Linked DNA regions of Homo sapiens: region 2 is linked to region 1. Evidence: promoter capture Hi-C in human tissues and cell types (Jung and others, 2019). All regions are on one chromosome and are shown on one strand. Each heading gives the region's core, a stretch centred on a gene start or on the middle of the fragment in contact. The rest is flanking DNA. Distances are from core to core; before and after follow the strand shown. Region 1 holds the start of KCNRG (potassium channel regulator). Region 2 overlaps DLEU1 (deleted in lymphocytic leukemia 1).

Evidence for each region. Contacts are between HindIII fragments. The study calls those that stand out against the background at their distance.
Region 2: a fragment that was not itself captured here is called in contact with the fragment with the promoter of KCNRG in region 1 in 1 of the 25 tissues and cell types used here (hippocampus).

Annotation. Positions count from the first base shown.
Region 1 is chr13:50,013,466-50,020,046 of GRCh38, reverse strand. It overlaps KCNRG (potassium channel regulator), which reads right to left and starts at 4,603. Exons shown (of 2, transcript NM_173605.2): 1 at 3,976-4,603. The coding sequence starts at 4,553. It overlaps TRIM13 (tripartite motif containing 13), which reads right to left. Exons shown (of 2, transcript NM_213590.3): 2 at 1,580-6,581. The region is part of intron 10 of DLEU2 (deleted in lymphocytic leukemia 2); the gene reads left to right. The HindIII fragment of the contact is 16,932 bases long and covers 2,024-6,581 here.
Region 2 is chr13:50,486,021-50,492,601 of GRCh38, reverse strand. The region is part of intron 4 of DLEU1 (deleted in lymphocytic leukemia 1); the gene reads right to left. Among named protein-coding and RNA genes, the nearest start is that of DLEU1-AS1, 38 kb to the left of the region's middle. The HindIII fragment of the contact is 5,039 bases long and covers 239-5,277 here.

The DNA.
Region 1 (6,581 bases), core at 3,354-5,853:
TTTTCTTTTGAGATGGAGTCTTACTCTGTCACCCAGACTGGTGTGTAGTGGTGTGATCTTGGCTCTCAGCAACCTCTGCCTCCCAGGTTTAGGCTATTCTCTTGCCTCAGCCTCCTAAGCAGGTGGGATTACAGGCGCACACCACCATGCCCGGCTAATTTTTGTATTTTTAGTAAAGATTGAGTTTCACCATGTTGGCCAGGCTGGTCTCAAACTCCTGACCTCAAGTGATCCACCCATCTCGGCCTCCCAAAGTGCTGGGATTACATGCATGAGCCACCGTGCTAGGCTACCAAATCAGTAATCAGGTGCTGAAAATCGAGACCTTGCTGTGATTCTGAAAGTCATTTCAATTCCATATTTAGAAGTAAACCAACACTCATCAATTTTTGAGAGATCACTTTCTAAAGAAAACATTTGATCAAACAAATTGTATTAATTTTTATATAACTATTTCCAATTTTGTTTTGAATTTGCTATTAATTAGTTGATTGAATCAAATATTTTAATGAATGCTGTGCACTTACAATTTCCCCTCCAGATCTAATCTTATCAATTATTAGCACTGACATTATGGATTTTCCTTTGCGACTTACTCCTATGAAATTTACCTTTTTTTAAGTGAAATTTTGCAGATATGAAATGTCAAGATTTTATTGTCACTTTTTACGCAATAACTCTCCATTGTCAAAGAGCACAACTTGGGGTCAAAAGCCTCTGGAGAGTGGAAAGGGCAAAATCTTCTATTCACTGAGGTGCTCCACAGAACAAATGCAGTACACAGAACCAATTCAAGAAAAATGCACATGAGGAGGCGGAGCTTGCAGTGAGCCAAGATGGCGCCATTGCACTCCAGCCTGGGTGACAGAGCGAGACTCCGTCTCAAAAAAAAAAACAAAAGAAAAAAAGAAAAAAATGCACATGAACTTTTCAGATTAGCTATCTGTTGGCTTTAATAATGTCAGCATAGGCTGGGCGTAGTGCCTCATGCCTGTAATCCCAGCATTTTGGGAAGCCGAGGCTGGTGGATCACCTGAGCTCGGGAGTTTGAGACCAGCCTGACCAACATGGTGAAACTCCGTCTCTACTAAAAATACAAAAATTAGCTAGGTGTGGTGGTGCATACCTGTAATCCCAGCTACTCGGGAGGCTGAGGCAGGAGAATCACTTGAACCCCAGAGGCGGAGGTTGTGGTGAGCCGAGATCACGCCATTGCATACCAGCCTGGGCAACAAGAGTGAAACTCCATCTCAATAATAACAATAATGTCAGCATAACACATCTGCATGGATACAGCTTTATGACTCCGTCCTTATCTGCCATCAAAAATGTTTTCATAAAGCTCTTTGTGTCCTCCCACCATTAGTTTATGAGATGTGAAGAAAAAGCTAACTTAGATTAGTTCAGGCAGAAACCTAAACTATCTGTAGTTTTAAGGGATAAAATGATGCTTGGGGACATCCCTAACCTTCTTCTAATGATCATGCTTGAAGTAGAGTGGTTTTTGTAGTTCACATTTAGAAACTCATTCTAAGCAAAGAAACCAATAGTAAAATCTAAGAATTACCAAACTACAAAGCACATCTCAAAAAAAGTTTATTATGTTTGATACAACAGATTCTCAATATTAGCAAATCATTCCACTTACCCCCAAGCGCCAGATCTTGACTGTACAGTCTAAAAACATTTGTCAAAGTGAGAAAAATGTTACAGAACATCTCATAAAAGAATTAAGATACAAATAGTATATACAGATAGTAGATTGTAACAAAGTGGAACGTACTTGCAAGACATCACCTAGCTAAAATACTTGATTCCCTATGAGGACAAACTGAAAAATAAAATATTTCAAGCACACAAAGAAAGGACAAAATAGGGGAAACCAATGGGAAATATAAAGTTTAAACTTATTTTTAACATTTAAAAGCAACTACACTTTTCCATTTGAGCCAGTTCAAAAAGGAGAAGTCAAATAAAGACTTTAGAATCCTGTGACCAACTATAATTTGAGCTTGATAACATGAATGGCATCTGAAAGATGCAAGCCAAGTATTTCTAGTACTGTGACCTTGAGAGATAATAACTGAGCAACCTGCTAGGTTAACCTTGAGGGGTAAATCATATTGATAGAACAAACTGAATAAAGTGAATGATACACCAGACAATTAGGCACCAATTAGGCTCACTTCTCCATTTTCCAAACCTACCAAAAAATATCTGAATAGACAGATAGATTCAGACCAGGGAGTGAGCAAAAAATAAAAATGATTGCTAATTAGGCAATTATATACTAAAAGTGGACCTTTTAAGGCCAGAGTTTTCATCCCAATCACCAGAGATCCCCATAATTTCACCGTATTCAGATTGGCTATCTCTACTTTTAAATTGGCACTGTCTAAAAATTCACAAACATTTATGGAATGGTAAAAATTTTGAGCTTCAAACAATTGAATACCATTTGGTGATGCAAGAAAATGCTAATTTTAAAAATAGCTTCTGATTTTGGAATTATGGAAGTCTAAATATAATGTTTTCTCACTTTAAAATGGAAAAAACTTTCGTGCTGTTTCTAAAACACAACATAAAAAGGGAAAACCATTTGGCACTGTGTACACACAGGAACATCCCAGTTTTAGTTTTTAATCATGTTTTTCAAGGAAACAATTACTTTCTCCAAATGCATGGTTTTTAAAGAGTACTTCGTATTTCCAGGACATCTTCTTTTGACCTAGTGTGTTTCTTCTTAAAAATCAATGACAGTTTTGTCTCTAGGTTTCTGACTTTTTGAAGCATGATCCCCAAAGAGGTCATAATCACTCATATTTTAAAAACCAAAAAAAATTTCATTTTTGTTAAAGTATCCCATCAATGAAAATAAAGTTGTACAGAGGTTTGAGATAAAGATAAGGTATTAGATTTTCTTCACAATCAGCCTACTAGCTTGACTGGCTCTCTTTTCCCAAAATGACATTTCAAACTCTTTTGAAGGACAGGAAGTTATAAAATGTAAACAATTAAGAATTGTCATACTCGGTTATTCTACCTAGTGTCCTCCAGTTGGTAAGCAAGACCAAGGAGTGTGTCGCTAAGAGAGAGAGACACTGGTATCCTTCCTGTTGGCTACTGCTCAAGTTAAGAAAATATCTTAAAATACGCCTACCTTTACCAAAAAAAAAAAAAAAAGTATATTTTAAATGATACCAATAAAGAACACATGCAGGCTTTTCTTTTCCTCCTAAAAATTAAAGCCAGCTTTCACAGTTGGTAAAATAATGGTAGGACAGCATTAAGACATTTTACGGGGGGAAAAATGTTTGTGACAGCAGAGTGGAAATCAGCGTTAGGATCCAGCCAAGAACAACAGAGGGAGTAAGTGAAGAATTGACTCAGGAGCAACTATCCTTAACATACTGACAGCCTATCCCAATATTTTGAGTTGTTTAAGAGCCAAGGCTGTAACAGGATACCAAATTTGCCATGAGATATATCTGTCTTTAAGGGTGTTTAAAAATAAAGTCAGCTGAAGGAAAAACAGTAGTTGAATCATAAAACTGAAAGAACAACTTATATAGTGTGTAAGGAACTCAAGAGAAACCAGTGAGCGAGCCTTTATGTGAACCACTGAAACAATCTCTTAAAAATAAGGCAATTCTTTTCTAAGTCAAATTCATTAGCAATGGAACATAATCTACAAAATTATTTTCTCCCATGATTTGAATGTCCATAGTCTCAGTTTTTTCTGGGCAGTCTTCATTTATTCCTTTTGTCCCACCTAATAATAGCCCCTTTCACTCTAAAAAGTATCCCAGTTTGGAAAATAATTATTTGGTCATTCTACCCAACTCCACTGGTTACCCCAAAACATTATTTTGAATAATCATCTTTTCCAGAAGTTACAGGCCTGAGGAACTTCAAGTTTTTAGAGAAAACATCACAAACTGGTATACAAGAGAAATACTGCAAAGTACAAAATACCTGACTCCAGTTTGGTTATCAGTAGTGCTGTCAGAACCACACTGGAAAACCAGGTCATGGTAAGAAGGTCTTTGTGGAGGCAGTGGAAGTAAGGTCATCTGAGGAGGGAAAAAGTTACCATTCCAGGTCGGCGCTGAAGGTTGTTCTGTAAACACTGTAATCCTCCCTGTTAGCATCTCAATTGTTTTGCTGCAAGAGCCAAACACCCTGAAAAAAGCTTGAGTGTTCCGGCTTAGGAAATGTACCTCCACAAGAGCAGGTCTTGGCTGTAGCAGGTATGGGTTTAAGAGATCAACTAGAGAACGAAGTTCATAGAAAAGAGCCTCTCTCTGAAGCCTAAGATAGTCTGAAAATTCAGTGGGTAATAAAAGCTGGTGAGTTCTCAAAAAATCTAAGATGAAACTAAACAAATCACCATCTCTGTCTACAAAAATCTGGCCACCAACCATCTTGAATTCTTGGTCTCTGCCATCTAACATGCGTGCCAAACGAGAAGCAGGAAACTGCTTTATCGTAGAAAACCTTGTCGTGAATATCTTCCCTCCCACATTCAAAGTGACCAGTTCCTGACTACTCATTCTTCCCTCACTTCAAACTAGAGGCTACCATCAGCCACACTTAGGAAATCAACCTATAACCATAAATGTTGCTAGTTATACATGATTATGCAGTGGAGGGGAGGGAAGAATAACAAAAACCAGACTTAGATTCCCAGGAAACTACTGTAAGGTAAATAGTGTATCCATGGCTGTGTTTGCAAATTCGAGTTGCCTGGGAACTTGCAGTATACAAAATGAAAAAGCAACAGATGAGGAACTAAATAGCTTAAGGAAAACTGCCAATATATCTGAAGATAGACATCAAATAGATCCCTTTCCTGTCTTACATTTAAAAACTTATCCATGAAAACCTAGTAAAACTATATATATATATATATATATATATATATATATATATATATATATATATATATATATTTTTTTTTTTTTTTTTTTTATTACTGGGAGGGGAAAAGCATTCTCCCTCCCCATACCTGTCTACCACGCAGAGGCTAGACTTAAACGTTTTTCTTAATTTCTTATGATCTCCTTAGAAATTTAGTGGCTAAATCATGAATTACATGTTAGGAATGAGACAGCCTGGCAAGCTCAATTTGACTATTCTCATAGCTAGAAGGAAATCATTTCTTCTGTGCTTTAAATTTAGTTGCCACCTTTTATCCTGTCCCCATTTTCATTACCTCCTCTCAACCAAATTAGAGGAGGACTGAGGTAAAGAACTCTTATTTTCAGAAAGTCTATTCCACTTAATGGGCTTTCAAGGAATATCTTACTCTATGACACAAATAAGGCAGACTAGAGAGCAGTTATAAGGTTACTTCTTTGTTATATGAATTCTAAGCAAGGTGTTTATTCCATGAGAGGGTATCTTTATCTCTTGTGAGCAGACAGAACAGCATTAGTGTTCAGCTGATTACTTTGTAATAGCTGACAGACTGTTTTATCTGTTGTCAAATTAGTCTTAACTACACTAAACATTCTTTCTGTAAGCAAGTGGATTGGTTTGGTTGTACACTTGCCATCTTTCGAACAAAACAACACATAGCTGCCAGAAAAAAGGTAGTCTTCCCATTTCCTGCTCTTGCCATGTGTTCTATATATACATATATATGTATATATATGTATGTGTACATATGTGTGTGTGTGTGTGTATATATATATATATATTTTTTTTTTTTTTTTTTTTTTTTTTTTTTTTGGTAGAGACTGGGTCTTGCTATGTTTACGAAGCTGGTTTCGAACTGGAACTCCTAGCCTCAAATAATCCTCCCACATCACTGTCCTAGAATGCTGAGATTATAGACATGAGCCACCCTGCCCAGCCAGCTGATCCTTTTTTTTAACCTATCTATGCTTTTGCTTGCATAGCCACTTAACATTTCTAGTTGATCATCTTTGGTGAAAACTACAAAAACAAAGGAGAAAAGGGCAGATTGAAAGCTCCACTCTCCTAAAAATGTAAACTTATCACAAGAAAATGCCAGGTTTTGTATGTACCATTCACATTTTGGTGATAATTAACTCTCTGTAGAAAATTTTGGAAATCTAATTAATTAGTACCTTCAATACCTTTAGTTGTCTCCCACACACGCGTGTGTGTGTGAAATCTTCTACAATATCTTCCCTTTTTTAGACCATGTTCACTGTCAAAAAGGTGCTTTAAGAGCAGTCTTTGGCTGGGCACGGTGGCTCACACCTGTAATCCCAGCACTTTGGGAGGCCGAGGCAGGCGGATCACGAGGTCAGGAGATCAAGACCATCTTGGCTAACAGGATGGTCTTAAGGGACAGTGAAACCCTGTCTCAACTAAAAATACAAAAAATTAGCTGGGCGTGGTGGCACGCGCCTGTAATCCCAGCTACTCAGGAGGCTAAGGCAGGATAATCACTTGAACCTGGGAGGTAGAGGCTGCAGTGAGCCAAGATTGCATCACTGCACTCCAGCCTGGGCGACAGAGCAAGACTCCATCTCAAAAAAAAAAAAAAAAAAAAAAGTGATCTTTACTGCATGCTTGAAGAACAATCACTACTATACTACCTATACTTC
Region 2 (6,581 bases), core at 1,509-4,008, 470 kb before region 1:
ATAATAGTAACTACTTATTATGGATCTTCTAGAAGCTGATGTTTCACATAATGTTTACAGCAATCCAATGGGACAGAAAACATCTTTGTCATTTTATATATGAGAAAAGTGAACGTTGGGAAAGTAATTTTCCTAAGATTCCTCAACTTGTAGGTGAGAAATCCAGATTTCAAATTTCAGATTTCAGATTTGTCTGAAACAAAAAAAAACCCTTGATTTTTCTAGAGATAGCACTATGAAGATACCTGAAGTAATGTTGAGAGTATGACCTTCAGAGGGCACTGTATTTCTCCATAGTTTCCTCACCTCCTGTATCCTTACTTCAAATACTTAGGTCTTTCTCTCTCTCATCTCAAACCATTGCCTTTTGTCTGATGGAGCACAAAATCAGATGTCCTAGAGAGATGGTGGTCTGGATGGAGTCCATCTAGGAAAGATTCCCTGACCATCACCCTCATCTGCACTGAGCAAAAAAGCCCTCTGTTGGGTTTCAAAGTACCTTGAGTCTACACCTATTTACCAGTTTATGGTTCTCTGATACAGAGCTTCTGAATTGGAAGAACCACGTCATTGTCCATTTGCATTTAGAGCATCTGGCCCAGGATCTGGCACATAGAACATGCTAAAATATGGTTTTTGGATTAAAGTACATCCAGATATCTCCTTACTGCCCCCGCCAGCATCCTTATGAATGGACTCCATACTTTTTAAAGTAAAAAATACAGAAAAAGGTCTCCAGAGACACACAGTGCCTGCCTAAAAACAAGCTTCATGAAAAGAATGAAGAATGGACTCCTGACCCCACGCCACCACTCTAACAAGCATTAAGTAACAAGTAACAGTTAGTAATGGTGGAAGAATTAAATGAGTATGGAAAGAGACCATCTCTAAGGCATAGTGTAAAATAAAGACCTAAAGCTGAGAATGGATATTAAGAAAAAGCCTTCTGGCGAACCAGCCTCCACCCAACACACAAAGTGTCACTACAGGAATTTGAAGTCTGTAGTACACTGTAGTTAACCAGAGCAACAGCAATCTCTATTCCAATTAAATCCCTAAGTAGATTGGTTCAATAATCCACATTAGAGTCCTAGCAGAAGGAAATGTGCTCATTTCCAGGAATAAAAATCATTTACCTGGCCATCACGGTGGCTCACACCTGTAATCCCGGCATTTTGGGAGGCCGAGGCGGGCGGATCACCTGAGGTCAGGAGTTTGAGACTAGCCTAGCCAACATGGCAAAACCTTGCCTCTACTAGAAATAATAATTTTAAAAAATTAGCCGGGTGTGGCAGCGCACACCTGTAATCCCAGCTACTTGGAAGGGTGAAGCAGGAGAATCACTTGAACCTGGGAGGTGGAGGTTGCAGTGAGCCTGGATTGTGCCACTGCACTCCAGCCTGGGTGACAAAGTAAGACTCTGTCTCAAAAAAAAAAAAAAATCACTTACTTTAGTATATATTGTCCTACAGAAAGTATACAGCTTTCAACCAAAAAAGTACAAAGCATACAAAAATAAAGCAAGAAAAACAACACAGTGGCATGAGTAAATCGACAGAAGCAGACTCAGATATAATACAAATATCAAAACCATAAATAGGAAATTCAAAATAACTATAATTAATATGTTGAAAGTTCTAATGGGAAAAGGAGACAACACACAGGATCAGATAAGTAATTTCAGCAGAGAGAGAGAGTACTAAGGAAGATTTAAGTAGGAATGCTACAAATAATAATAATAAAAAAGTAACAGATATGAAGAATGCCTTTGAGTGTATCATCAATACATTTGACTAGTCAAAGAAAGAATCAGTAAGCCTCATATAGGTCAATATAAGTTATTTGAATTAAAAGAAAAACAAGAATGAAAAAAGTAGAATAGAATATCAAAGGAATGTAGAACAATGACATATACCTAAGATGTGTTTAATTGAAATTCTACAAGAAGAGAGAGGGAATAGGGCAGAATAAACATTTGAACATATAATAACCAAGATTTTTCCAAAATTAACATTAGACACCAAACCACAGATCCAAGAAACACAAAGAACACCAGTGAGGATACACACAATACAAACAAACAAATTAAAAAACAAACCTGAGATATGTCTTATCCAAATGATAAAAAACAAAGAGAGGAGAAAGAGAAAATTTCTGAAGGCAGCCAAAAATAAAAGACATTAATATTGATATAAATAAATAACGGGGAAGAAGAGACAAGTCTCACTTGTAGAAGATCCTAAATGATTTATGTAGTTACTCTACCCTTAAGGAGAATAAACCTAACTCCCCATTGTTTAATCATGGGCTGTTTATATGGACTTCCTTCCAAAGATTTCAAAAGTAAAAGAGAGAGGAGTAATTTTACAGTGGAGAAATCTGACAAATACTATCTTAGCCACGTGATCAAGGTCAACATCAAGAGTGAAAAGTTATGTTAACAGTAAGTCTCCTTAATATGATTATTACAAAAATGGCACTTTACCTCTGTGGTCTTCCTCCCCAAAAACCCATAACCCCAGTCGAATCTTGAGAAAATCATCAGACAAATCCAAATTGAGGGACATTCTACAAAACACATGACCAGTACTCCTCAATCTATCATAGTCATCAAAAATAAAGAAATCCTGAAAAACTGTCGCAGCCTAGAGGAGTTAAGGAGACATGATCACAACATAATGTGGTAGATGGGATCCTAGAGCACAAAAATGCCATTAGGTAAAAACTAAGGAAATCTGAATAAAGTACAGACTTTAGTTAATAATAATTTTTCAATATTGGGTCAGATGTACCATACTAACATAAGATATTAATAATGGGTAAACCGGATATGAGATATACTGGAACTCTCTGTACTACTGTTGCAGTTTCTCTGTAAACCTAAAACTCTTCTAAAAATAAAATTTATTAAAACAAAACTAAACTAAAGATACATTCTATACAGAGGAACAAAAATAAGAACAAACTTCTCGTGGGAAATCATGTAAGCCAGGAGAAAATGGAGTGACATCATTAAGATTTTTTAAAAACTGTCAGCCAGAGTTCTGTACCCAGGAAAACATCTTTTAAAACTAAAGGTGAAATAAAATCTTTCTCGAAAAGAAAAATGGAGAATTAATTGGTAATAGGCCTGCATTATAAGAAATGTTTGAGAAGGCTATCCAGGTAGAAGTAATATAGCACCAGAGAGAAAGTTGGATCTGCACAAACAAATAAAGAGTTGTGGGAAAGGAAATAAATAAAGATTTAAAAATGCATTTTCTTACTCCTAAGTGCCTAAATGATAATTGATTATGCAAAGAAAAAAAATAGTAGCAATATACTATGTGCTTGCAGCATATGTAAAATTAAATGTATAGCATAAAGTAAAAGATGAAGGAATTTGAATATACTGTTGCAAGGTCCATACACTACATGTGAAGTGATTTAATATTATTTGAAGGTAAACTCAGATTAATTAAAGATAAATATTGTAACTCTAGGGCAACCACTAAAAGTAAAAATATAAAAGAGGTATAAATAATAAGCCAATAGTATTTTCAAGAGCTATCTGCATTTCCATATTCACTGCAGCATTATTCACAATCACCGAGGCATCAAAGCAACAACCTAAATGTCCACTGACTCCTAAATGGATAAAGAAAATGTAATATATACATACAAGGGAATATTATTCATCCTTAAAAAAGAAGAAAATCCTGCCTCTTACAGCAACATGGATGAACCTGGGATACATTATGCTAAGTAAAATAAGCCAGACACAGAAGGACAAATACTACATGATATTACTTATGTAATGAATCTAAAGTAGTCAAACTCATAGAAGCAGAGAATAGAAGGATAGTGGTCAGAGATTGTGGGGAGGGAGAAATGGAAGGTATGAGTCAAAGTGTACAAAGTTTTGATTATATAAAATGGATAATCTTAGAGATCTACTGTAAAGCACAGGGACTGTAATTACCAATAATATATTGTATCCTTAAAATTTTGCTTTAAAAGCAGATCTAATGTTGAGTGCTTTTATCACAAATAATAATAATAATTATTATTATAATAAAGAAAGAAAGCAGGAGGAAATTTTTGGAAGTGAAGTATAGGTTTATGGCATGATTTATGGTGAAGTATAGGTTTATGGTGATGATTTGATGAGTGCATACTTATCTCCTAACTCATCAAGTTGTATAAATTAAATAAGGACAGATTTTGTATGTCAATTATACTTCAATAAGATGGTTTAAAAATATAATAATTAAAGCCAAAAATTGGAAATAGTACAAATTTCCTTCCATGGGTGAATGGATAAACAAACTGATACATCCATACAATGGAATACTCTTTTACAATAAAAAGAAGTAAATTACTCATGCATGAAACAATACGAATGAATCTCAAATGCATTTTGCTAATGAAATAGGTCAGACTCAAGAGACTACATGCTATAGTTTCCCTTTATATGTTATTCAAAACAAGACAAAACTATGGGGATGGAGAACAGATCAGCAGTTAGCAGAGGCTGGAGGTAGAAAAAAGACTGATGACAACCAGGCAGCATGAGAAATTTTTTGGAAGTGATGGAACTCTTGGCATGTTGATTGTGGTAGTAGATACCTTAGTCCAAACTATACACTACATACTTATACATAATGGAGTACTATTCAGTTATAAAAAAGGATGAGATCCTGTCATTTGCAATAACATGGATGGAACTGGAGGTCACTATGTTAAATGAAATAAGCCAAGCACAGAAAGACAAACATCACACGTACTCACTTATTTCTAGGGGGTAAAAATCAAAATAATTGAACTTATGTAGAAGGATGGTTACCAGAGGCTGGGAAGGGTACTGGGATGCTGGGAGGAGGTGGGAATGGTTAATGGGTACAAAAAACAGAAAGAATGAATAATATCTTGTGTTTGATAGCACAACAGGGTGACTATAGTCAAAATAATTTAATTGTACATTTTTAAATAACTAACAGAGTATAACTGGATGGTCTGTAACACAAAGGATAAATGCTTGTGGGGATGAACACCCCACTTTCCACAATGTGATTATTATGCATTATATGCCTGTATCAAACTATCTAATGCACCCCATCAATATATACACTTACTATGTACCCACAAAAATTAAACATTAAAAAAAACTACATACCACAATGAATCAATTTTATAAAATGCAGATTTAAAAAAATGAAGCTTCTCTTATACAAAGAGAAGATAGAAATGAAGAAAAACAGTCTACCCTCTACACCTGGTCACTCTACAGAGGAGGTCTTGACACCAAGAAAAATCACTGCCCTACTAAGCAACCAAGGCCTTGGGCAAACCATTTAGCTCTGTACTTCACAAAAGCTTTCAGGAAAACAAAAATGCAAGTTAAGATATAATAATCAAATCAGATATGTCCTGACACCCCCCGCCCCTCCACTAAGCCCCTGATTATAGGCCAACACTGCAGAATGTTTGAGCAAATATAACAACTTTTTTCCCCTTCAACAAATTGAGGACTGGAAAGCCTATAAATGTGCTATTTCAGCTGTTTTTCGCAGCTTATCATGATTTTGTGAAAGTCTGGCCCCAAGACTTTGGATCCCTTCTTAATAACATTTAATGCTACCATTATGTAACTGAATCCATTTTGTCAGTGTAGTGGGAATATCATTAAACTGTAACTCATTTCACTGTCTTCTAGCTTTCAGACCCTCAAGTGCCTGAGTCCAGAACACCAGGAACTTGAAGCAGGGAGTGGTCCTAAACCTTCCCCCACCCACCACCCTCCTGGGTCGGGCTGTTTTTCACACTGTGACGTTACCCATTTTGTTATCATCAAGACCTTGTGATGGATGCTTGAGGCTCACAGAGTGCATGCCTGGAATCTGCAGGGCTCCTCCTTATCTGTCAATGCCTTAAACTTCCTGATGCTGACTGACATTCCTCATTTTGCCGAGTTTCAGTCCAGGTGCAGAGTATTTTTGGAAATGCAATCATATCAGGAGATGGTACTTTTTACATCAGTTGCCCCCTCAACATTAAGTACGTACCTGGCACCTTGCCACCTAATATGCAAGTAGCCACATTATTATGGAAACCACATGTTCATTAGCAAGGTTGGCACCAACACAACCTCCACTGTCCGAAGTTAATGTTATGTTCCATTATAGTCCAGACAACAGGACAGTGTAGGATACAGTTTGGGCATGAGAACAAGCAGTCCTGTTTGATGAAATCTGAGTCTTCAACTGTTAGAAATATGATCCAGTTTCTATCTTGACATACGTCTGCACTGATGTTTCAGAAAAGGACATGTTTTGAAAGAAAATACCATTCTTTTAGTGTTATCTTTGCAAAATTGTATTTAATTCTTTCTACCACTTTCACGGACAACCAGAATCCGCTGGCTTCTTGCTGGGCTAATCACTTCATCCCTAGAGATTCATGCAAGAGTATTTCACTTAATATAAAGGAGTGACTCAGAATCATTGCTTTCAATTGAGAAAGGCTGAGAGAGTCCTGAGAACAGTATTCTCTTCTTTTAGAAGCAGGGAGGAGGGGTGCTAAGATAAGGAGGGAGAGAAGGA